2 separate regions of the Homo sapiens genome follow, and region 1 is linked to region 2. The links are contacts of gene promoters, found by promoter capture Hi-C in human tissues and cell types (Jung and others, 2019). All regions are on one chromosome and are shown on one strand. The core of a region is centred on a gene start or on the middle of the fragment in contact, and the rest is flanking DNA. Distances in the headings are between cores, read along the strand shown.

What was found. Contacts are between HindIII fragments. The study calls those that stand out against the background at their distance.
Region 1: a contact is called between a fragment that was not itself captured here and the fragment with the promoter of SERF2 in region 2, in 1 of the 25 tissues and cell types used here (lymphoblastoid cells).

Annotation. Positions count from the first base shown.
Region 1 is chr15:45,028,422-45,032,288 of GRCh38, reverse strand. All of the region lies in intron 1 of SORD (sorbitol dehydrogenase), which reads right to left. Among named protein-coding and RNA genes, the nearest start is that of SORD, 7.2 kb to the right of the region's middle. RefSeq lists an enhancer at 724-1,018. The HindIII fragment of the contact is 5,495 bases long and covers 1-3,867 here.
Region 2 is chr15:43,789,960-43,793,710 of GRCh38, reverse strand. SERF2 (small EDRK-rich factor 2) reads right to left here and starts at 1,391. Exons shown (of 3, transcript NM_001018108.4): 1 at 1,328-1,391; 2 at 628-736; 3 at 1. The coding sequence starts at 1,334. It overlaps SERF2-C15ORF63 (SERF2-C15orf63 readthrough), which reads right to left and starts at 1,735. Exons shown (of 6, transcript NR_037673.1): 1 at 1,328-1,735; 2 at 628-736. It overlaps MIR1282 (microRNA 1282), which reads left to right; the gene lies at 1-52. RefSeq lists enhancers at 1-243, 579-908, 697-1,896 and a silencer at 1,629-1,708. The HindIII fragment of the contact is 8,897 bases long and covers 1-3,751 here.

The DNA.
Region 1 (3,867 bases), core at 1,289-3,788, 1.2 Mb before region 2:
ACCATCTTAAATCTTTTTAAGTGTATAATTCAATATTGTTGTCTATATTCACATTGTTATACAACAGATCTCTAGAATTTCACATCTTGTAAACCTGAAACTGAATACCTGTTAAGTAACAACTGCCCATTTTACCCCCTCAGCAGCCCTTAACAAACACCATTCTACTTTTTGTGAGTTTGGCTACTTATTTCATATAAGTGGAATCATACACTATCTGTCACTTTGTCACTGGCTTGTTTTTATTAACATAATATTCTCAAGGTTTATTTTTAACACAGCATGTGACAAAACTTTTTTCAGGGCTGAATAATATTCCACTATATATCTATATGCCACATTTAAAAAATGTTCATTACTTGAATAACATCTGGGTTGTTTCCACCAACAAAATGGAGTCACAATGATAAGTGACTCAGCTCACAGTGAAACTGCTGACTGCTCAAAGTGATAAGCATATGTATGTAGGACTGAGATGACAACACCTGCTGTGGCCAGGCAACCCCAAAACTTGATAAGAAAGGGAAGCCAAGGCCAGGCGGGATGGCTCACACCGGTGATCCCAGCACTTTGGGAGGCCGAGGCAGGTGGATTGCTTAAACTCAGAAGTTCCAGACCAGCCTGGGCAACATGGTGAAACCCTGTCACCAAAATTAATTTTATAAAATAAAATAAGAAAGTGAAGCCAAAAGATGGCTAAGTTATGACAATGGACATTCCTATGCAGGGTATAAAAACAGCAAAGAAAGTGACCATGGCCGAGAGCCTGTAGAAGCTCTGCCCGTGAGAACTCTGAGGCCTCCTCACGAACAGAGGCTGCCATAAGTTCTGCTGGGAGAAGAACAGCAACAACACTCCTCCCACTTTGTTGTTTCAAGGGAAATCCAAATCTGTTCATCAGTCAGCGTGCTGGTCTCTGGAGCTACTTGCCACGGTTCATTCCCTGTTGTTTTTTTTTTTTTGTCGTTGTTGTTGTTTTAAGAGATGGGTTCTCATTCTGTAGCCCAGGCTGGCACATTAATAGCTCACCACAATCTCGAACTCCTGGGCTCAAACGATCCTCCTACTTCAGCCTGCTGAGTAGCTGTGACTACAGGAGTGTGCTATCACACCCGGCTACTTTTTACATTTTTTGTAGAGACAAGGTCTTTCCCAGGCTGGTCTCAAACTCCTGGCCTCAAGTGATCCTCCCACCTCAGCTTCCCAAAGTGCTGAGATTACAGGTGTGAACCACCATGGCTGCCCCGACCTCCCCTATCACTGCCTGTGTGTGTTGAATATATTTGCATGATCGTTGGTATGTGAAAGCCTCACATTTAATTGGCCATTGAGTTATTGTGAAACCTCTGGGCTCCTGGTCGGAGTCAGCACAAGTAGGCTGGAACCTGACATGACAGCTGTTCAACAGGCAGTTGGTTACTGGGACTGGTGCTCAGGCATCACCTCCTGCAAGAAGCCTCCCCTGTCCTCACCAGGCTGGAGAGGTGACTCCTTTCTCTCCTTTGCACTTCTCCAGCACCTAGCATTGAATCCACACAGGATAGTTAAGGACTATTTAATTTTCATCAGGGATAAATATATTAAAATTTCCTCCTAATTCAAAGTGTATGAACATAACCATACATGATCTTATTAAATGGTTCTATATATGGAGCAAAAATTCTAAGTCTCTGAGCTTTGTCAGATGCTCTAGTCTGTTCGTGATCTTGATAAGTGCTCACTGTGTTCGGGTCTATGTAATTGAATATTTCTGTGTTTTTTAAAATTGTTGAGTTGAATATTACTTTGCAAAATTTGAATGTATTTTCCCTGGTAATTAATGTTCTTAGTGCAAACCTGATTTGGGGAAAACTGCCAGCTTCAACAGCCACACTAAAAGACTTCTAAGTTAGATGCTAATATTGTATCTACGTGTACATATTTCTCCTCCTTCTTAATTTCTGTTGTGCAGTTTTAAAGAGAAATTTCCCCTACATCCATAATTCTAGGGTCTCCCCTTAGAATAGGGCTGCTTTTATGGAATGGTAAAATCCTATTTGTGATATTGCTTGCTTCTTCTCCTGCTTTTGATAGCAAAAGGAGGTGGCCAAATGCCTAGGCAGATAGGGGTGGGTACCCAGTGAAATTCCACCTCCAAGTAGAAGACAGTTTAAAGCCGGAAAGCCAAGCTACAAGTTAAATCCTGGGACTGGATCAAGAACTTGTCTTCCTGTTTGGACGCTTTCCTCTGATTGATCCCCACCCTTCACCTATTTTACATATACCTAACCTTTCCTAAGTAGTTTTCTACACTGTTTTGCCCACCTTTGCATGGTGTCTTCACGTTAACCTTTTTTGCATACTCACAAACCCATCAATACGCACTTCCTATCCTGTGCCTATAAAGATCCCAGACTCAGTTGGTAGAGGGGGAAATGACCTGACTTCGGGGAGGAGACAACCTGACTTCTGGGAAGATGACCTGCCCTTCCCATCCCCTCTCCAGTTCCCTTCTCTGCTGAAAGCCATTTTCATTGCTCAGTAAAATTCTCCACCTTCACCATCCTTCAATCATCTGCGTGACCTCATTCTTCTTGGACACTGGACAAGAGCTCAGGGCCCACCAAGTACAGGTACCCAGAAAAGGCTGTCAAACTGGCCCTTTGCCCCTCACCAGTGGCATGCCCCGTGCAGCGAGGCAAGGGGCCAACTGAGCTGCTAACATGCCACCATCTGCAGACGGTGGAAATAAAGGAGCACTGTAACAGCCCCTCTGGGGCTTCAGGGTCATGGACACCCTTACCTGGGTGCTGCTGCATTCCCCTCAAGGAGCTTGCTCCTGTGTCAGTGCCTGGAGCAGCTGGCTGGATCCCGCACTCACTCATTCATGTGCTCCCTCCCACAAGGGGTTGAGCACGGTAGGCCCAGTACTCCACAGGTCTGGCGAAGGGGCCAAGAAAAAGCTTGCATCACTTTGAGAGGAAAATGCTACCTTTGTGCCTCATGGTCTTTCACAGACAAAGGCATTGCCTTTCCAGAGCTGTTGGTGGAGGTGGGAGTGTTTACTGGATTTAATTTCCTGTTTTGAATTTGAAATGGTATGTCCAGTTTGGGTTTTGTTTTGTTGTTAAAACATAATTAAGATAAAAGCAAGAAAGATGGTTCTTTGGGCTACTTACTGCTACCCAATTTCTCTTTTTCTGGAGGATTTTCACATTCTCTTTTCACTCTCAAGTGTCTCTGACTTGTAAGGGTTAAGTAGCCTGCATCTCATCACTATCAGGGTAATCTGGTTTAATCCAGCTCCTGCTTCATGACTATCAGCCCCTTTAATCTGATCACATAGAAGCAGCTGGCTCAGAGAAACAGACATGATGCACAGGACCATCTGAGCTGCCCATGTTCATGCCCTCTCATTATACCATCCGCTTCTCACCCCAAAATCTTAACAGTAAAGTATAGACATTTTGAATGTGCTGTATTACAGATATAGATTTATCTTATTTTTAAAAATAAATAAGAGTATTTAAAAATGCTTAGGTCAAAGCAATTCTTTTGACCTAAGGTATAATACGTTGCCTCAATGGACAAAAACTCAAGAAATATCTTCATGGACCTCCGAGTAATGTTTAAACTTGATGCCAATATATTAATTTTTCTGCCCTTTATAATTAAACAACATTAACCCATCATTCTGAAATTATTATTTTTCCCTTTAATTTATTGTCTCCTCATATAGCTGATCATAACAAAAATCTGACTACATCCCCTCCATGGTGTTGTTTCCTGGAAATGGAGCCTGTTTTGTTCCTATACTTCTCCCTGTTCAGATGCTCCTGCCTGAAGGAAGAGCCAGCTTTCAGGAAGAAGGGAGATAAAGTGCACTCA
Region 2 (3,751 bases), core at 142-2,641:
CCTGGGGGTAGAGATGATGGGGCACTGGGAGGTACCAGAGGGCAAAAAGGACAAGATGCAGGGGGATGAAGGGCACAAAGGATAAGATGGAAGTGGATGGGACTAAGTTCAGCGTTTGGCTGCTGTACTCCCACCCTAGGAGAACAAGAGGAAGAGAGCTGAGGCTCAAAAGGCGACCAGTCTCCATCTGGCTGTTGCCCAAGGGGTCAGAAGTCTGGTGACACAGGCCCAAGGGTCTCTATTCTGTATTGAGGACCACACCCAGCAACACCAGTGAGGAGGTTGGGAGAAGGGAGGAGAACCGAACAGCAAGGAGGGCCAAAAGTACTGGGCTGCCGTAACCACAACTGTATTTGAAATGTGAAGCTCCCTGCCCTTGCCCTTAAGGTCAGACCCAGGGACGCTCAGAAATCAGACTGAGGGCAGGCGCCCGCCCCCGTCCTTTCCTGTAAGGCTGTGAGCTAACAATTTGGAGGGTGGGGAGGAAATAAAACCCTAGAGGAAGCAATGCACTCTGCTCCTCACGACTAGTCCACATTCAAGCCCTGAGGTAGCTCTCTTTCCTTCTATAACCCTTGGTCTAACCCAGGTCTCCACCGTCCCTTTCCCTCCCCTCCCTGGGGCTACCTCTGCTTGCGGGCGGCAGCAGAAAGCCCGTCATCTCGGCGCTTTCCCTTAACCGAGTCGCTCTGCTTTTTCATATTCTTCTGGCGGGCGAGCTCACGCTGGTTACCGCCTAAGGAAAGAAAATTAAAGGTGAGACGCGGGGGCCGCTCTGCCCACACACCGGCGACCCTTCTACCCCAGCGCGGCCAGCAGCAGGATCCAACACCACTTCAATCTCCGGGCCCCGACAACGGCCCATCGAGGCCCAGGCTGCTTGGGGTAGGGGGGAGTGGCGAATCTGCCACGGGCCAGGTCAAAATACGGACTAGAGAAGGGAGGTCCCAAGGGGCCAGCTGGAGGCGTGTTTTGGGGCGGCGTGGGGCCCAAACAGCTGGCAAGGTGTGTGTGGACGGTTTGGGTCTCCGTGGGGGATGGGCTGGCTTGTGGAGTGGGGGCTCTGGGCCTATCACAGGGGCGCTGGCCTTCTCCTTACACCGCGGAAGATCCGGGAGGGCCTATGCCTAACCCGGGAGGGTGGTCCCGTGAAGTAGCCGTGGGCAAAGGGCTCGATTTCCGGGCACCGAGTGTGAGGGTGGCCACAGAGCGCGCCCAGAGAAACGCCTTGCTAGGGAAGCTACGGAAGGTCAAAGCCGGCGCCTCGCCGGTGGTGTTTAGGGTGAACGGAAAGAAAAGGGCAAGGAGAAGGGGGCTCGGTGCTCACGGGTCATGGCGACGGCAGCGGCTCCAACCTGCCTCCGTTACGTCCCCTCGTTCTGTCGGACGTTGCAGGTCCCGCCCCTTCTGGCAACGTAGCACAGTCGTTCCTTTCCTCCCCGCCCCTTCGCGCCCGGGAGCCGGCTCCCATTGGACAAGAAAAAGCACGTGGATCCACGGGTCGTGCTTGAGCCGGGGTGGGTAAGTGGCGGAGGGTCGCAGGCGGAGCGCTCAGCGTGGGGCGGGGCTTCCCGAGTGAGACGTAGGGACGGGCCTGGAGAAACTAGGCCGGGTCACGTGGGCAGGTTGGGGGTGGAGGGGTGCGGCTGGCGATGTGGCGCTCCCGCGGGCTCGAGCACGTGACCGTGCAGAGTGACCTCATGCGGGGACAGTTTGGGGTACTGACAAAGTCGCCCTGAAAGAACGCCCGTAGACAAGAGGGCGGGGTTTCAGCCAGTTCTGTGTTACGAGTACTCTACTACTAAACTTGTGCTTACTTAGGACCACCTCTCAGCCACTTATTTGGACACGAGTTGTTCACAGCTCGCTTAAAATCAAGTACAAACACAACTTCAGAAACCCGCTTCTACTCCCATTGTCCCCTTCCACGCCCCTTCACTGTAGAAAATCGCAGCAACATCTGGTATTTCCTAAAACTCTACCCTGTTCGTTTTCCCCCAGAAACTTTAAATGTGAACATGCAGCTTGGAAGTATTGGAGGACTCCAAAAGTCACAGACTATGGAGTTGGATCAGTGGCTGAGATTAGATAATTCACATATTCGCTTTTCCCCTCTGGAGCTTTTCTTACTGTACCATCGCCACCAGCCACCCGGTTTTGTATTAAGACCCTGGAGGGCCGGGCGTGGTGGCTCACGCCTGTAATCCCAGCACTTTGGGAGGCTGAGGTGGGCAGATCAGAAGGTCAGGAGTTCGAGACCAGCAGCCTGACCAACAATGGTGAAAACCCTAAAAATACAAAAAATTAGCCGGGCGTGGTGGCGCGCCTGTAATTCCAGCTACTTGGGAGGCTGAGGCAGGAGAATCGCTTGAACCCGGGAGGCGGAAGTTGCAGTGAGCCGAGATCGCGCCATTGCACTCCAGCCCAGGCGACAGTGCGAGATCCCGTCTAAAAAAAAAGTTAATAAGAATTAGCCGGGCGTGGTGGCGGGCGCCTGTAGTCCCAGCTACTCAGGAGGCTGAGGCAGGAGAATGGCGTGAACCCGGTAGATGGAGCTTGCAGTGAGCCGAGATCGCACCACTGCACTCTAGCCTGGGCGACAGAGCGAGACTGCATCTCAAAAAAAAAAGAGTTAATAAGAAAGGCTGGGCAAGGTGGCTCACGCCTGTAATCCCAGCACTTTGGGAGGCAGAGGCGGGTGGATCACGAGGTCAGGACATCGAGACCATCCTGGCTAACACGGTAAAACCCCGTCTCTACTAAAAATACAAAAAAAAAAAATAGCTGGGTGTGGTGGCAGGCGCCTGTAGTCCCAGCTACTTGAGAGGCTGAGGCCGGAGAACCGTGTGAACCCAGGAGCAGCAGCTTGCAGTGAGCCGAGATCACGCCACTGCCCTCCAGCCTGGGCGACAGAGCCAGACTCCATCTCAAAATAAATAATAAATAAACAGTTAATAAGAGACACCCAAGCTGGAGTGCATTGGCGTGATCTCGGCTCACTGCAACCTCTGCTTCCTGTGTTCAAGCTATTCTCCCACCTCAGCCTCCCAAGTAGCTGCGATTACAGGCACCCGCCATCATGCCCGGCTAATTTTTGTATTTTTGTTTTTCTGGAGATGGGATTCCATCATGTTGGCTAGGCTGGTCTGGAACTCCTGACCTCAGGTGATCCGCCCTCCTTGGCCCCCCAAAGTGCAAGGATTACAGGTGTGAGCCACGGTGCACAGCCACAATTGGGTATATCTTGATGAGCACAGCATATTCCTATAATCATGAAAGATACAGAGAAAAAAGCTCTCTCACACTTTCTCTCTCTCCCTCTCCCTGTCTGCCTCTCTCTCTCTAATATCCATATATGTATTTATATGTCTGTCTATATATATGAATTTTTGGTTTTTTTTGAGACAGTCTTACTCTGTTACCCAGGCTGGAGGCTGGAGTGGTATGCTCTCGGCTCACTGCAACCTCCACCATCTTGTATTCAAGCGATTCTCCTTTCTCAGCCTCCCGAGTAGCTGGGATTACAGGCACCCGCCACCACGCCCGGATAATTTTTTTTTTTTTTTTTTGAGATGGAGTCTTGCTCTGTCGCCCAGGTTGGAGTACAGTGGTGCGATTTCGGCTCACTGCAACCTCCACCTCCCAGGTTCAAGCAATTCTCCTGCCTCAGCTTCCCGAGTAGCTGGGCCTACAGGTGCGTGCCACCACGCTCGGCTAATTTTTGTATTTTTTAGTAGAGACAGGCTTTAAC